Linked DNA regions of Homo sapiens: region 2 is linked to region 1. The links are contacts of gene promoters, found by promoter capture Hi-C in blood cells and fetal thymus (Javierre and others, 2016). All regions are on one chromosome and are shown on one strand. Each heading gives the region's core, a stretch centred on a gene start or on the middle of the fragment in contact. The rest is flanking DNA. Distances are from core to core; before and after follow the strand shown. Region 1 holds the start of DTX4 (deltex E3 ubiquitin ligase 4). Region 2 holds the start of OR4D11 (olfactory receptor family 4 subfamily D member 11).

Region 1 (7,828 bases), core at 3,808-6,307:
GTTGGGCTACAGGGTCTATGTGCCTGTACCTATTAGGTGCCCAAATAAGATTCTAAATGACAGAATGAGTCAAAGAATCCTGGGTTTGGACCATGGGAAAGTGGTAAAATGGTGTCAGAGGGATGTCAAGAGGAAGAGCTGGTTTTGGAGGGAAAGTTGTTGAGTTCAATTCAACGCTACAGAGAGTCAGAGATAGCATGCAGACCTCAGAACCAAAGTGTTGAGACAATAGACATGGTGGGATTTTACTCGCTGATTATTTTCAGAGACCACCCTATTTTGGATGTGCTAGTTCTCGACTTTTCTAGAATCAGTATTATAAACCAGATAATCTGTGAAGTAACCCAAGGAAAGGGGCTCCAGTAGGATAGGGATTGAGGATGTTCATAAACTAAGGATGAAGAAGGAGAAAGAAAATCAGTTTTTTACAGATTTTCCACCTGCGTTACAAAGCACCCAAAACCTTTCAGCTTCTGGGAAGTGGAAGGCCATGCCTTCCAGGCATGCACTGAGGTCTCTGGGGCATGTTACACACATCTATGTAAGTGACTCACTGCCGTTAGGGCATGCGCTAGGTCCAAGAAATCCCAGGCCGCTCTTACCAGCATCCCCCACGCCCACCAGAATTTTCCGTAAGGACAAAGAAATATTTGGATGCTCTATTATTGCTATATCTCACATGTCTGGAACAGTGACTGCGCTAAATAGTTGCTCCATAACTATTTACTGAATGTAGAAATAGGACATAGGGCACCTAATTCAGAATCTCGGCCCTGCCATTGACTAGCTGTAAACCCTTGAGCAACTTAATCACTTTCAATTTGTTTCCTTACTTATAAAATGGGGATAATAATAGGTTCTTCATAAGATTGTTGTGAGGATTAAACAAGATAGTGTGTGCAAGGTGCTTGCCATGATGCAGACACATGGTGCATCCTGCACATTGTAATTATCATGTGGTCATCATGATGCCTGCCTCCTCCACTTCTATGCTAACATAGGGTAGAGGGTTTTGTGGCGGGGCTAAAACTCAGCTTCTGTCAAATCATTTAATTCAGCCCATGCTCTTTCTCTCCATCTGACACTTCTCACCACTTTAAAAGACATAAAGAAGGCAAAACCTGCACAGAAAACTCAGAGCTGGAAAGAACGCTCCTTTACCCTGTGCTTATCAGTATCATCACTGGCACAGGGGCCAACCCATTCACCTGTTGATCTGCATGATGGGAGGAAAGAAAAAGAGGGAAAGAAGAAATCTTAAGCCTGCTCTTCATTCTAAAAAAAAAAAAAAAAATGAGGCCTGACCATTTAGAGACTTGGTCAAGGTCACGGAGTAAACAGTGAGCCTGGAATGAGAGCCACAGTTGTTTGTCTCCACTCTCAGCCTGGATCTTCCGCATCCTGCTACTGAAAACCTGGAGTTGGTAGGGTCAGGCATGCTGAAAGGTACAGGGGAAAGTGATGCTGAAGTAAAGCTCTTCAGTCACTGCCCTACAACAGAAAAAGGACAACCCAGTCAAGGTAAATGATGGCAGGTGGAGAGGGGCCCACCGAGGCTTTTGGAAGTGGCCAAGAGCCAGTCCCATCTATCTCACCCCATCTCTACCCTTATTCCAGATTCTCTAGCCCAAAATGCCTAGAGAAGACTGGCATAGAATGCAAATAAGATCAGACCTCTAGGCAGTCTGGGGAAGGAGAAGGGCCCAGGGCAAACAGAGGCGGGCAGACGGGTGTCTGGGACCTCCCAGCCATCTCCCTGGAGACAGGCTGGATGAGGTCAGGAGCCCAGGCGAGTGGAGAGCCTGAGGACTCTATCAGCAGCAGAGCAAGCAACTTCTAAAAAGACAAAGCTCTCATGTCAGGAAATGTCCCCATACAGAGGAGGCAACAAAAAAGGAGAGGAATCGCCTCTGGGCAGGGGACTTCCAGATCTCTTTTGTTTATGGGGATGTTTCTGGTTCCCAGCTTTGAATTATGGCTTAAGGATGGTGGGTAATTTAATTAAACATTGCAAGGGCTTAGCTGAGGTTGCCTGGGAGCCACTGGTTTAAAGTTCCTACCCTGTCATGGCCTCATCAATGAGATTGAGAGGAACTATGAGTGTGTTGGTGGAGAAGGGAGAGGAGGGGGCTCAGAGCTAAGAAACCCAGAGATTCTTCTATTCTTCTTTGACAAGCGCCCTGACAGACCCAGCTTTTCTGGGAATTCAGCCCAGTGTCCGCAGCACCCAGCACAGGGCCTGGCGCACAGCAGAGAGGTATTCAGGATGGCTGACTGACTCTAGCAATGAGCGGATGAAACCACAGCAGTCTGATGATAAACACACCCTGAGGCAGCCTTTAAAATGATTCAGGGCAAGTTCTCTGCCTGAGGTTTAAAGTCCAGGGAGCGCCAGCCTCTGACTAAATTGCTCACCACCAGGCAGTCCTCAGGTAAGAGTGATCAGACCTGGGAAACGTAGCTTCTTTCCTTCCACCCAGTTTTCTCTACAACTTCGCTTCTGTAGAAAGGGTCATGAACCTTTGTAGATACCTTGCCTATCCTAAGTACCCCCAAACACAGATTCCACCTTTGCCCTTTCCAAATGTGGGAAAGGGGCTGAGACGTTTCTGTCACAAGGGTGGTTTTCCAAATGCTGTAGAGATTTACTCTGAAATAGAAAAGGTAACACCTGCTTTTTTTTTTTTCCAGGACTGGAATCCCCTGTCAGATGCTTTAACTGCTGGTCTCTCTCTCTCTCTCTGGTCCCACCTCCGTGGCTCAGCTCCGCCCAACACACACCCCCTCCACCCTCACCTTCTGATGCCTCCACCCTCACCTCCACAACCTTTACCCAAGTTGCGCAATGACATTCTCTCCCTCCCCCTCAGCCACACTTAATCCTCTTTCTCAATCTCCCCACATTCCTCTCTATTCTCTGCTCCTCCCAGTCTCCCTCAGCTCCACACACGGTTGAAGCCCCTCCAGATTCTAACACTTCCAGAATCCTCTCCCCAGAAAGCTCTCCTCAATCAGCCAGTGTCTGCAGAGTCCTTGGCAAAGGGGTTGCTGGGAGTTATGACTAAAGATGGGGACATGAGGGTGGAAAGATACCCCTTTCCCATGACAATCCTAATTAGCACACAGGATGTGGGGGCTTTCCAAGGAAGCAGAGAGACTCTGCTCAAACAGCTGTTCACTGGGGAGGGCCTTTCCGAGTCATCTTCTCTACGTCCTCCCCAGCACACCGGCCTCTCCAGGCTCCTCGGTTGCACTCTTGGGAAAGCCGAGCCAGAATTCCAGAAACAATGGCCCCCTCCCCACCTGTCACTGACGGAGGCAGAAACTCTTCCCGGGTCATCGATTAAGCAAGGACCGAGCAAAGAGAGGCAGTTTTGCTCTCCCTTGGGCAGCACCCCCACTCCCCACCCCCCAAGGCCCCATCCTGGAGGCTCCCTTCCTGGCTCTGACCTGGAAAGGCAGGTCAGCTGGGAAGCGGGTTTGTGCTGGCTACAGTGACAACTTGATTCTCATGAAAAGATAGGAGTTTGGCGCTCCAGGAGACCATGGGTTCCTTACAGGCTATGGTTTCAAGAGGAAGCCTGGGGACAGTTTCTCCTTAGGAATCTGCGTCCTCCTCCTCCGCAGACAAAGGGAGCGGCTTCCCTGCCATGCATTCCGAAGCCCCGAGCCTCCCCCTCCTCTCTCCATCTGCTCCGGCCTGTTGCTTCCGCGCATGTAGTGTGTAGCAGAGGCATTCGCCAATGCCGCGGCGTCCAGGGTACCCCAGCCCTAGTCTCTCCTCCCAGGGAGCCCGGCGCTTCCCTTACCCGACTGTAGCGAGAACCTCCGGGGAATCCCTTCTTCCTCCCCCAGTTCCCACACCCAGGACCCAGCTGCGGGGAGGCATCCCACACAGGAGACGCAGAGGCAGTGAGATCGGGGGTGAGGGGACGTGTGGCAAGCCCCAGCGTGCCTGAAGCAAAACAGGGTCAGGTCAGCCAAGGTGCCGGCCGCCACGGGATGAGGGCAGGAAGCCTTTGCGAAGGGCTGGGATTGCCTGTAGTCTGGGGCGGCCCTAGAATTTCTACATAGAAAGACTTAGGGCCACCAACTGCTGAAAAGCGGGGGCATGAAAGGGGTGGGGAGTGGATTGTTACCGACTAGGTTGAAGCTGGGTTTGCAAAACCACAACACTGATACTATTTGCATGGATGTTTAAGGGGGAGGGAGGATCCTGCGAGGATTCAGCGGAGTGAATCGCCTCCCACCACCACCTCTTGGTGACACTGCTGCACAGAAGTGCCGACTAGGTGGCCAAGGTGGGTTCACAGGGAGGGAGGTACCTTGGCAGGTTGGGAAGGTGGGAGCAGGCGGGGCGGGGTCAGGGGCGGCTGGCTCACCCGTGTCTTGGCGGAACTGGTTCATGGACTGCAGGTCGATGATGTAGGGCGCGAGACGGCTGTCCACCTGGCCCAGCACCACGCTGCCCCCCGCGCGGGGGCCGGCGCGGACCACCGCCTCGATGTGGTGGCTCACCGCTGGGCTGTAGGGACGCCAGCGGCCGTGCTCGTTCAGCCATTCCCAGACCACCACGGCCGAGGCCAGGAGCATGGCGAGCCCGGGGCTGCGGCGCTGCGCGGCCCGCCTCCCGGGCCCCGAGCGCCCGACCTCCTCCGCTTCCTCCTGCGCCGCCGCCTCCGGGCCTCGACCGCGCCCCCTGCCCCGCGCCCCGCCGCCCCGGGCAGCCTCAGCTCCGGCCCATGGGCTCCTCCCCAGCCGTGCATCCACCGGGGCCGGGACACCGGGGCCGCCTGGCTGGGACCGCGCGCCGCCGCCGCCGCCGGGGTCCGCTGCTGCTGCCGCTGCTCTGTGGGGTCGAGTCGCTTCATGCAAATGCCCGGCTCTCTGCAAACAGGCCCCCGCCTTGCAAAAGCCACTCGGCGGGCGCGCGGCCCGAGCCCCGGCGGCCGCGAGCTGGGGCTGACGGCGAGGCAAGGACCCAGCCCTCGCACCAGTTGCGCCTCGGCCTCTGCAGACGCCGGGGTGGGATCTCGCCGCACGGCCGCGCTCGGAATGGCACGCTCTGGTCCCCTCCCCTCTCTCCCTCCCTCCCCACCCCTTCGCCGCACGAATTGCAGTCCCCGCCGCTGGGAGAGCTCCCCCTGCCTGTGGCTCTGCTCAGTTCCTTCCAGAATGAACCACCCCTCCCAAGCAGGGCGCTAAGGCAAACCCGCGCCCGCGTGTGTTTCCCTGGTTCCTTGATGCAGAGAAGCGACCCGCCATGACACGGCCCCGGGACCACCACTGTCGCCCAGCCGCAACTTTGCAGCCTCCTTCCCCCAAATGTAATTTTCTCTCTCTCTCTCTTTTTTTTTCCTTAATGCAGCATGATCAGTGTCCGCAGCGCGAACTGGAGACACGCATTGTCTCGGGGCTTGCGCACGCACTGGCACACTCACAGTCGCACACACACGCGCGCGCACCCCAACTCCTTCCTTGCCCCGGCTCCTATTACCTCATCCTCTCCCGCATCCTTAGCTGTCCGTCAAGGAAGCAGAAGACACGCCCCCTGCTGCTCGGGCGAGTGCCCTGGAGCTTACCCGCCCCCTGCTGGCCTAAAGTGTCGTGTGCCGGCCAGTGGCCACTCCAACCTCTGCTAATGAGACCCAGTCCAAAGGGATGCAGCAATTTCGCTAATGATGGATTTATATTACCTACGTAGAGAGCAAATGTGGTTTTTCTGGCCAGATTCAACGTACTAGAGTCAGGAAGACGCATGTTAGATTAATTTTATCTGCATCGTTTCTGTAACTAAAATTATGAAACACTAGGAAAAACACGAGTTAGACTTATTTTGATCATCAATAGTTAATATGGAAAATAACCTTAAATAGGTAGGTTCTGACTAAAAGGGAAGACTGAAGTCAGGATTATGCATTATCCTTGTCAAAGAACACAAATTTTGTTTTGTTGAGATTGCAAACCACATAAAACAACGAATCGAGTCTTATCAAGATCCAAGTTATAGGATGCGGGAAAGTAAAAATAGATTATGTGTTAGAGAATGGGATTGTGAATCTTTTTGAAATAATCAATTTTTTCATAAATATCATATGACCCTTTTATGTTTTAGAAGAGTTGCTTCCCCCTCCCTCTCCTTGCAGCTGTCATTTCTCCCATTGTTAGAATTTTGCATCCTTCTACCTTTATCTTTCTCCCAACAGAGTTCTAAATACAAAGCAAAAGAAAAAGTGTGAGATCTGTTCTTCTTCAGGCCCCTAAAGGCACCAGGCTCAAGGAACCTCTGAGCTTTGTTCTTTCTGGTCTTCTTGCACAGCTTGGCCTCCAAAATGCCTAGTCGGCCTCTCCCTTATTTGGGGACTGTTCCTAATCCAACCTAAACAATACCACTCATTAAAATGTCGAGTTTCAGAATTAGAAGAACAAAAAGAAAACAAGGATACCTCGACTAATTATATCATAGGCCATTATTATTACCATTTTACAAATGACAGGACTTAAGGAATTTAAACTATTTGCCCTAGATTACATAGCTAGTTAGAGGGGAAACCAGTATTCAAAATTTAGTTGGGCTGTCTCAAAAGAAAATGCCTGTTCCATAGCATGTCCTATACAACACAGAGGTGGCACAATAACAGGCAATGTAGAAGTGTCTCAGTGTGAAAGAAGGGAAGGGAGAAAATGGGGGTAGAATTTTCTGGAAAAGAAACAGAAGGCAAACTGAAGAAAAAGTAATTTAAAAATTTATTGGGCTACTTTTATTTCTAGTCATAAAAATGGAAAGTATCAAAACTCAGGAAACTTTCTTATAGTCTTGGTAAGTATGAATCAAAAAGTGAAGAGTAATGATTCAAGGGGATATTGGAAGTACCAGCGAAAATATAGCACCTGACCAGCTAAGCCAGAAATTCCAAGGTGAAAAAAATCTAAACTAGATAAGCAGGCTACCAGCAAATGTTAGATGAGCTGTTTGAAAGGCGAATGGAAGGCAGAAGGAAACTGACGCCTACCTGCCTATGTCCAGCCTAGTTTTGTATCTGGTCTTCTTGTATCTTCCATGTTAAACACAACAGAGTATTACAGCAGAATAAAAATATCTTATGACATGTGAGAAGGTTTGTATGTAGTCTGATTCATTTGCAAGAGGAAGTGAATACACACACACACATACACACATATACACACAAATGAGAGGGGTCTTTAAAATTTTATGGAAAATGCATATTATGAAAAAACTAGGCTGGTAGTTCAAATTGTTTTTTTGCACCCAAATAAACTCATACTAACTTGTTATAACATGTCTGAACAGGATCTAGTTTGAGACACTAAGAAGGGTAAGACAATGCCCTTACTGAAGAGGATCAAGGATTAGCAGTCAAAACAATAGCCTACACCATAGATATGTCAACTGGTTCAGCTTACACAATTCTGACAAAGAAATTAAACTTTCCATTCCTTGATAGGTGCCAAAACCATTGCACCCAGGTTGGCCACAGACAAGAGCAGGCCTTTCAATAGAGATTTTAAATGGGTGGGATCAGGATCATGAAACATTTCTTTGAAGAATTGTAACAGGAGATGAAACATTACCAGTATAATCCTGATGACAAGGAACAACCAAAGCAATGGCTATCAAGAGGTAGAAGTGGTCCAGTCAAAGCAAAAGTGCACTGGTCAAAAGCAGAGACCATGGCAACAATTTTTTGGAGATGCTCAAGGCATTTTACTTACTGACTTTCTGGAGGGCCAGAGAACAATAACATCTGCCTAATATGAGAGTATTTTGCAAAAATTAGCAACAGCTTTAGGATAAAATACCTGGGAA
Region 2 (7,828 bases), core at 3,737-6,236, 330 kb before region 1:
AGGTTCAAATGATTCTCCTGCCTCAGCCTCCTGAGTAGCTGGGATTACAGGTGCCCACCACGATGCCCGGCTACTTTTTGTGTCTGTGTTTTTAGTAGAGATGGGGTTTCACTATGTTGGGCAGGCTGGTCTTGAACTCCTGACCTCAGGTGATCTGCCCTCCTCGGCCTCCCAAAGTGCTGGGATTACTGACATGAGCCACTGTGCCTGCCCAGGGCGACTCTTTAAGCCTTATGAATAACAAGCAAACCTATTGTCATGTTTTGATAATAGAAAGCATTCCCTATTTAATAAAAGGTGCTGGGAAAACTGGCTAGCCATATGTAGAAAGCTGAAACTGGATCCCTTCCTTACACCTTATACAAAAATCAATTCAAGATGGATTAAAGACTTAAACGTTAGACCTAAAACCATAAAAACCCTAGAAGAAAACCTAGGCATTACCATTCAGGACATAGGCATGGGCAAGGACTTCATGTCTAGAACACCAAAAGCAATGGCAACAAAAGCCAAAATTGACAAATGGGATCTAATTAAACTAAAGAGCTTCTGCACAGCAAAAGAAACTACCATCAGAGTGAACAGGCAACCTACAAAATGGGAGAAAATTTTCGCAACCTACTCATCTGACAAAGGGCTAATATCCAGAATCTGCAGTGAACTCAAACAAATTTACAAGAAAAAAACAAACAACCCCATCAAAAAGTGGGCAAAGGAAATGAACAGACACTTCTCAAAAGAAGACATTTATGCAGCCAAAAAACACATGAAAAAATGCTCATCATCACTGGCCATCAGAGAAATGCAAATCAAAACCACAATGAGATACCATCTCACACCAGTTAGAATGGCGATCATTAAAAAGTCAGGAAACAACAGGTGCTGGAGAGGAAGTGGAGAAATAGGAACACTTTTACACTGTTGGTGGGACTGTAAACTAGTTCAACCATTGTGGAAGTCAGTGTGGCGATTCCTCAGGGATCTAGAACTAGAAATACCATTTGACCCAGCCATCCCATTACTGGGTATAAACCCAAAGGACTATAAATCATGCTGTTATAAAGACACATGCACACGTATGTTTATTGCGGCATTATTCACAATAGCAAAGACTTGGAACCAACCCAAATGTCCAACAATGATAGACTGGATTAAGAAAATGTGGCACATATACACCATGGAATACTATGCAGCCATAAAAAATGATGAGTTCATGTCCTTTGTAGGGACATGAATGAAATTGGAAATCATCATTCTCAGTAAACTATCGCAAGAACAAAAAACGAAACACCGCATATTCTCACTCATAGGTGGGAATTGAACAATGAGATCACATGGACACAGGAAGGGGAATATCACACTCTGGGGACTGTTGTGGGGTGGGGGGGGCAGGGATAGCGTCGGGAGATATACCTAATGCTAGATGACGAGTTAGTGGGTGCAGCGCACCAGCATGGCACATGTATACATACGTAACTAACCTGCACAATGTGTACATGTACCCTAAAACTTAAAGTATATATAAAAAAGAAACCTTTCTTTCTAGTTATAAGCATTCTACATAAAATGTAAATAAAAATAAAAGATTAAATTGTAAAAAAAAAAAAGTTTACAAAAAAGCTTTCCTGGGACTTCGGTAAGAATTGCATTAAACTTATACATTTTGGGAGAATTGGGATCTTTACTATGTTGAATCATCCAGTCCATGAACACAGTATGCTTCTCCACTTGTTTAGGTCTTGATTGATTTCTTTCATCAACATTTTGTAATTTCCAGCATACACAGTCTATACATTTTTTTGTTGTTTATAACTAAGTATTTCATTTTTAGTGACTATTAATGGTGTTGTTTTTAATTTTGGTTTGCACATGTTTATTGTCGGTATACAGAAATATGATTGATCTCTGTACATTGGTCTTGTATCCTAAGACCTTGCAGAAGTCATTTATTAGTCCTAAGAGTATTTTTCTATATTTTCTTGACAATGTGGACAATTGTGTTATCTGTATGATTTCTTCCTTTTTAAACTTTTCTTTTGTTAAAAAAAAAAGAAAGCTAGACATTTTAACATGATGGATGTTTTGAACTCAATATACATTTTCATGTTTTCTACTCAACCAGTTTTTATCTAAAAATAAGGAGTATGGGTCATATAGGAAAAGGGTGTTACAGGCCAATGGGAAACAGAAGGCGTGTTAGGTAAAGCAATAAAGGTGATATTAATAATGACATTTATCTTTGGTTGCACATTTATTCTCTGCCAGGTATCATATATTTCATGTATACCATCTCATTTTGTCCTTTACAACAACCTCATGAGATGGATATTATAACGAGAATCTTTGCGTAGGTGAACTATGACCTTTGGAGAGAGAGGTGAAATAACTTGCTCAAGATCGCACAGCTGGTGGATGGCAGAGATAGGATTCATACCTGGGTCTGTATGACTCTGAAATTAGAGCTTTCATCCACCATGCTTTACTGCTCTCCCAGATAATAACACTAGCCTATACTGCCTCTTCACAAACACTAGAAGTTTGAAAAAATAGACCGGGTAGAGTTTTTTCTTCTTAAACTCTCCCATTCTCTCTTTCCAGTGAAAAGAAATGTGAATTCTCAATGGTGAGGCCAAGGCAAAACTGACCCTTGTAAGGCTGCAACTGGAAAATCGGTCCTTTGATGGTAGAGATAAATTGCTTCATGTGTGTGGTTTCTGAAGTTTTGCCTTTATCCAAACTCATCATGAGAATGTGTGGCATGTCTAGTTCTGCATTAAGATATATACCTTTAGGCCATGATGAGAAATCTTCCCAAGCCTCATCAATCTTGATAGGAATCCAGGAGGATAACCATTATGTTCCTATGAAGTTCTCAGTAGCTCATGAGCCCACTTTAGTTTAATTCAGCAGAGGCCAATTTCTCAATCTGCAATAGGCTATGCATACCCACATATATGTACTCCAGAGGCATTGATCATGAGATCCTTCTGGAACAGGATTATAGTTTGGTATAGACAGGTCCAACAATGTAATAAATTACATTCATGTGGTGGAAGAACAATGGGTTGAGCATCTGAAGATGTCTCTGTAATTAACTTAATATAAGACCTTGAACACATCACTTTATCTCTCTGGGCTTTTATTTCCTTATCTTCTGAAAAAAATGTTGGACTTAATCATCTTATCTGCCTGCCATATAGCTGTCTTGATTGACATAAGGTTACTTGGTCTTTGGAAAAGTAACAGTCAGTTCACTCCTATAACACTAGTTAGTTCATGCTGCACAGAAGCTTAGGTTATCAGTTATCTACTAACTGAAATAGGAAGACAAATTGTTCATAGTCAGTATAGTTGGTTTACTGACAATGTATCTGAGTATGTAAATGTGAATTCATGGGAAAAATAATATAAGGTGTCCTTGGTGATGAAGAGCTGAATTTGTTTTCTTTTCTTTTTTTTTTTTTTTGAGACAGAGTCTCACTGTGTTACCAGGTTGGAATGCAGTGGCGCGATCTCGGCTCACTGCAACCTCTGCCTCTTGGGTTCAAGTAATTCTCCTGCCTCAGCCTCCCGAGTAGCTGGGACCACAGGCGCCTGCCACCACGCCCAGCTAATTTTTTGTATTTTTAGTAGAGACGAGGTTTCACCGTGTTAACCAGGATGGTCTCGATCTCCTGACCTCGTGATCTGCCCGCCTCGGCCTCCCAAAAAAATTACAGGCATGAGCCACCGCGCCCGGCCTCTTTTTTTTTTTTTTTTTGAGATGGAGTCTTGCTGTGTTGCCAGGCTGGAATGCAGTGACGCAATCTTGGCTCACTGCAACCTCTGCCTCCTGGGTTCAAGTAATTCTCCTGCCTCAGCCTCCTGGTAGCTGGGACTACAGGTGCGCACCATCATGCCCAGCTAATTTTTGTATTTTTAGTAGAGACAGGGTTTCACCATGTTGGCCAGGATGGTCTCGATCTCTTGACCTCATGATCCACCCGCCTTGGCCTCCCAAAGTGCTGGGGTTACAGCTGTGAGCCACCGCGCCTGGCCTGGATTTGTTTTCTATTCCCTTTCAGAAGGCACGAGTCTTCTCTTCAGTCTTCTCATGGCTGACTTCATTTCCTGGTTCCTCAGAGTGTAGATCAAAGGGTTCAGCAGAGGGGAGATGACAGTGAAGGTGACAGAGATGGCCTTTTCTGTGGGGAGGGCAGTGAAGGGCCGGGCATAGACATAGATGCAGGGCACAAAATGCAGGGTCACCACAGTGATGTGGGAGGTGCAAGTGGAGATGGCTTTCCTCCTGCCCCCTCCTGCCTGAGACCTCAGCGTCATTAGGATGACTGTGTAGGACACAAGCAGGAAGATAAACCACAGGGTAGTGACCAGGCCATTGTTGGAAATCATCAAGAACTCAAGAGCAAAAGTGTCAGTGCAAGTGAGTTTGAGGACCTGGGGGACATCGCAGTAGAAAGTGTCAAGAACATTGGGTCCACAGAAAGGGAGAGGCAGCAACAGGGAGATCTGCACGATGGAGTGGACAAAGCCCCCCATCCAAGAGGCAGAGATGAGGGCAGTGCATTGCCCTCTACTCATGATGGTCACATAGTGCAGGGGCTTGGAGATGGCCATGTAGCAGTCAAACGCCATCACAGAGAGAGAAAAAATGTCTGCCCCACCAAGGAGGTGGAAGAGAAATATCTGTGTCATGCAGCTTGTATAGGATATGGTCTTTTTCTTTGACAGAAGGTCCAGCAAGACTTTAGGAGCAGTTGTGGAGGAGAAGCAGATGTCAAGGATGGCTAGATTGCGGAGCAGGAAGTACATGGGGGTGTGAAGGCGAGACTCACAGGTCACGGTGACCATGATGAGGAGGTTTCCCAGCAGAGTCGTCATGTACACAAGACATAAAAAAAGAAACAAGACCAAACTCTGGTCTTGGGATTGAGTAAGTCCCAGAAATATAAATTCTTTTACTCTGGTGACATTTCCCAACTCCATTGAATCATGTTTTCTCTTTCCTGAATATCTTGGAAAAAATAATGTTATTTCAGAAAGTGTTTACTCTCTCTTAACAGATTCAAGTATTAGGTCTGAAAACTTGTGAGATATTACAATTTCAAGTTTATTGCCAATGCATGTAAAATGACATCTTATTATACAATCATGCATACACTTATATAAATTACAATTTTAAAAAATGTATAAAAATAATGTTGCAGTTATTCAAGATACTTAGGACATTATTCAAGATAAACAGAGGGGGATATTAATTATTTAGAAAGAGACTATTGTGGCATGGGAAATATAAAAATGGGATTAGTTTGTTGTGAGAATAAGGCAGTGCTTACTTTGTGTGACTAGAACACCTTGAGTTTCACAGGGCTGAGGATTTTGTTGTTTTTTCCCAGACTGGATGCTCCATTTAAATGGTTCTAAGAACCCCTGTCTGCAAAGAGGCCCCCCACTGGATTGAATTGTATGGAAGCAGCACCCCTCTCTTCTTAAATCACAAACTTATTTCCATGAAAAATTAGAAAATGTTTAAGCCATAAAATTTGTTTCTATTGCTCTATTCTTCTTTAAGGGGACTGCTTTGTTTCTTTCTTTACTTTAATCTACTTTAGGTACTGAAACCCCGGGGTGGTGAATAGCTCCTTAGCAATGGAAATAAAAATATTACTCAGAGCTTCTCTTCTGTTGTTTCAATTTCTTTCTTAAAAAATAATTTTTGTTGAGCTATCATTGACATACCATAGACTGCACATATTTGAATTCACACTTCGATAATGTTTTTTTTTTTTTTTGAGACAGAGTCTTACTCTGTCGCCCAGGCTGGAGTGCAGTGGCGTGATCTCGGCTCACTGCAACCTCTGCCTCCCAGGTTCAAGTGATTCTCCCACCTCAGCCTCCTGAGTGGCTGGGATTAAAGGCGTGTGCCGCCACGCCTGGCTAATTTTTGTATTTTCAGTAAAGACAGGGTTTCACCATATTGGCCCAGCTGGTCTCGAAATCCTGACCTTGTGATCCACCCACCTCGGCCTCCCAAAGTGCTGGGATTACAGGCATGAGCCACTGCTCCCGGCTGATAAGTTTTGACATATATACCTGTGACACCATCTCTATAGTTAAGAGAGTGAATATATCTATCACCCAGAAAATGTCCTTGTGCCCCTTTGTAGCCTGTCCCCTTTACCCTTCCTTCTTCAGGCAACAACTGATCTGCTTTCTGTCATTATACATTAGTTTGTATTTTCTATAATATTCTATAAGTGAAATTCTACTATTTGTATTTTCTTCTTGTCTGCCTTCTTTCAACCATGAAATTCATCCGTTGTTTTGTGTGTACTGCTATTTTGTTCCTTTCTATTGTATGAATATACCACAGTTTGCTTATCCACTCACTTGTAGGTGAACATTTGGGTTATTTGTGGCTTCTGAATATTACTCATAAAGCTGCTATGAACATTCACATTTGGGTCTTTGTGTGGACATATGTTTTCAGTTCTCTTGGGTAAGTAGCTAGGAGTGGAATGGCTGTAACTCTTAACATTCAATAGTATGAGAACAAACAACCAATTAAGCAACAAGGACAAATTATTTTAACAAAATGAAGTCACTAAAAGAAGTTAAAAAAAAAGAAGAGAAAAAAGGACAAATTATTTGAACAGACACTTCAGCAAGAAGACACAGAGAGAGCAAATAAGCACATGAAAAGGCTCAACATCATTTATCACTGAGAAAATATAAATTGAAACCACGTTGTAATTTAAAAATAGTATACATTAGAGTCACTGGAATGAAAAAGATTGATATATCAAGAGTGGACAAAGATGTAGACCAATGGAACTCCAGTAGGAATGTAAAATGGTACAATCAATTTGAAAATATTTTGGCAGTTTTTTTTTTTTTTAGATGGAGTCTTGCTCTGTCACCCAGGCTGGAGTGCAGTGGCACAATCTTGGCTCACAGCAACCTCTGCCTCCCAGGTTCAAGCGATTCTCCCACCTCAGCCTCCTGAGTAGCTGGGATTACAGGCTCCCACCACCATGCCCAGCTAATTTTTGTATTTTTAATAGAGGCAGGGTTTCACCATGTTGGCCAGGCTGGTCTTGAAATCCTGACCTCAGGTAATCCATCCGCCTTGACCTCCCAAAGTGCTGGGATTACAGGCATGAGCCACCGCGCCTGGCTGGCAATTTTTTAAAAAACTGTTACACATACACTTACCTTATAACTGTGTTGCTTTTGAATTCCTTTCTTTCTTTCTTTCTTTTTTTTTTTGGTAAATCTTTGTAATGGGCCTTATTTTCTTTCTTCCTAGTTTATCTCCTTTTTCTTTCCATAATTAGAAACAAATGAAGGGCAAAAGTCCCTTTTTTCCCGTTCTTTGGGTGTGTTCTCCAATTTAAATGAAGATATTTCTTCTCACTTAGCTCGCTTTGTCTTCAAGTTTTCTTTCCTCTCTAGGCAATTTTGTCCAAAATCTATTTAATGGGTAAATCCGAAAACAAGCTGCCAAGAAGTATTCTACCTTCGAGGTAGATGCCTACTAGACTCTGGCACCACGCAGCCTGTTCAAATCCCAGCTGAGTACTTACTGGTTGTGCTAACATGAGCAAATTGCTTCATCCCTTGACCTCATTCTCTATATCAGTAATTTGGAGACAATAGCATCTCCTTCATTAGACTTTTGTGAGGGTTAAATAAGTTAATCTATGTAGAGCATCAGTACTTAGAGCGTTGCCTAATCTGTAATAAGTGTAATTATATGTGTGCTACCTTAAAGACAACTCCAGGTTAATAATTCCCACACACAGCTTCTTCAATAAATATATCTCCA

Evidence for each region. The method cuts DNA at HindIII sites, captures the fragments that hold promoters and counts their contacts. A CHiCAGO score of 5 or more calls a contact.
Region 2: a contact is called between the fragment with the promoter of OR4D11 here and the fragment with the promoter of DTX4 in region 1, in 3 of 17 cell types (M1 macrophages, monocytes and M2 macrophages). The highest score is 8.5, in M1 macrophages.

What each region holds. Positions count from the first base shown.
Region 1 is chr11:59,169,361-59,177,188 of GRCh38, reverse strand. DTX4 (deltex E3 ubiquitin ligase 4) reads right to left here and starts at 5,057. Exons shown (of 9, transcript NM_015177.2): 1 at 4,383-5,057. The coding sequence starts at 4,593. LOC124902601 (basic proline-rich protein-like) reads left to right here and starts at 3,744. Exons shown (of 2, transcript XM_047427951.1): 1 at 3,744-3,924; 2 at 4,459-7,114. The coding sequence starts at 3,744. The coding sequence ends at 5,267. LOC124902675 (a long non-coding RNA gene) reads left to right here. Exons shown (of 4, transcript XR_007062682.1): 4 at 2,692-3,490. RefSeq lists silencers at 2,224-2,293, 4,441-4,490, 4,551-5,120 and enhancers at 3,991-4,100, 3,543-4,371, 4,999-5,293, 5,380-5,920. The HindIII fragment of the contact is 13,201 bases long and covers 1-7,828 here.
Region 2 is chr11:59,500,734-59,508,561 of GRCh38, reverse strand. It overlaps OR4D11 (olfactory receptor family 4 subfamily D member 11), which reads right to left and starts at 4,986. Exons shown (of 1, transcript NM_001004706.1): 1 at 4,051-4,986. The coding sequence starts at 4,986. The coding sequence ends at 4,051. The HindIII fragment of the contact is 7,711 bases long and covers 3,293-7,828 here.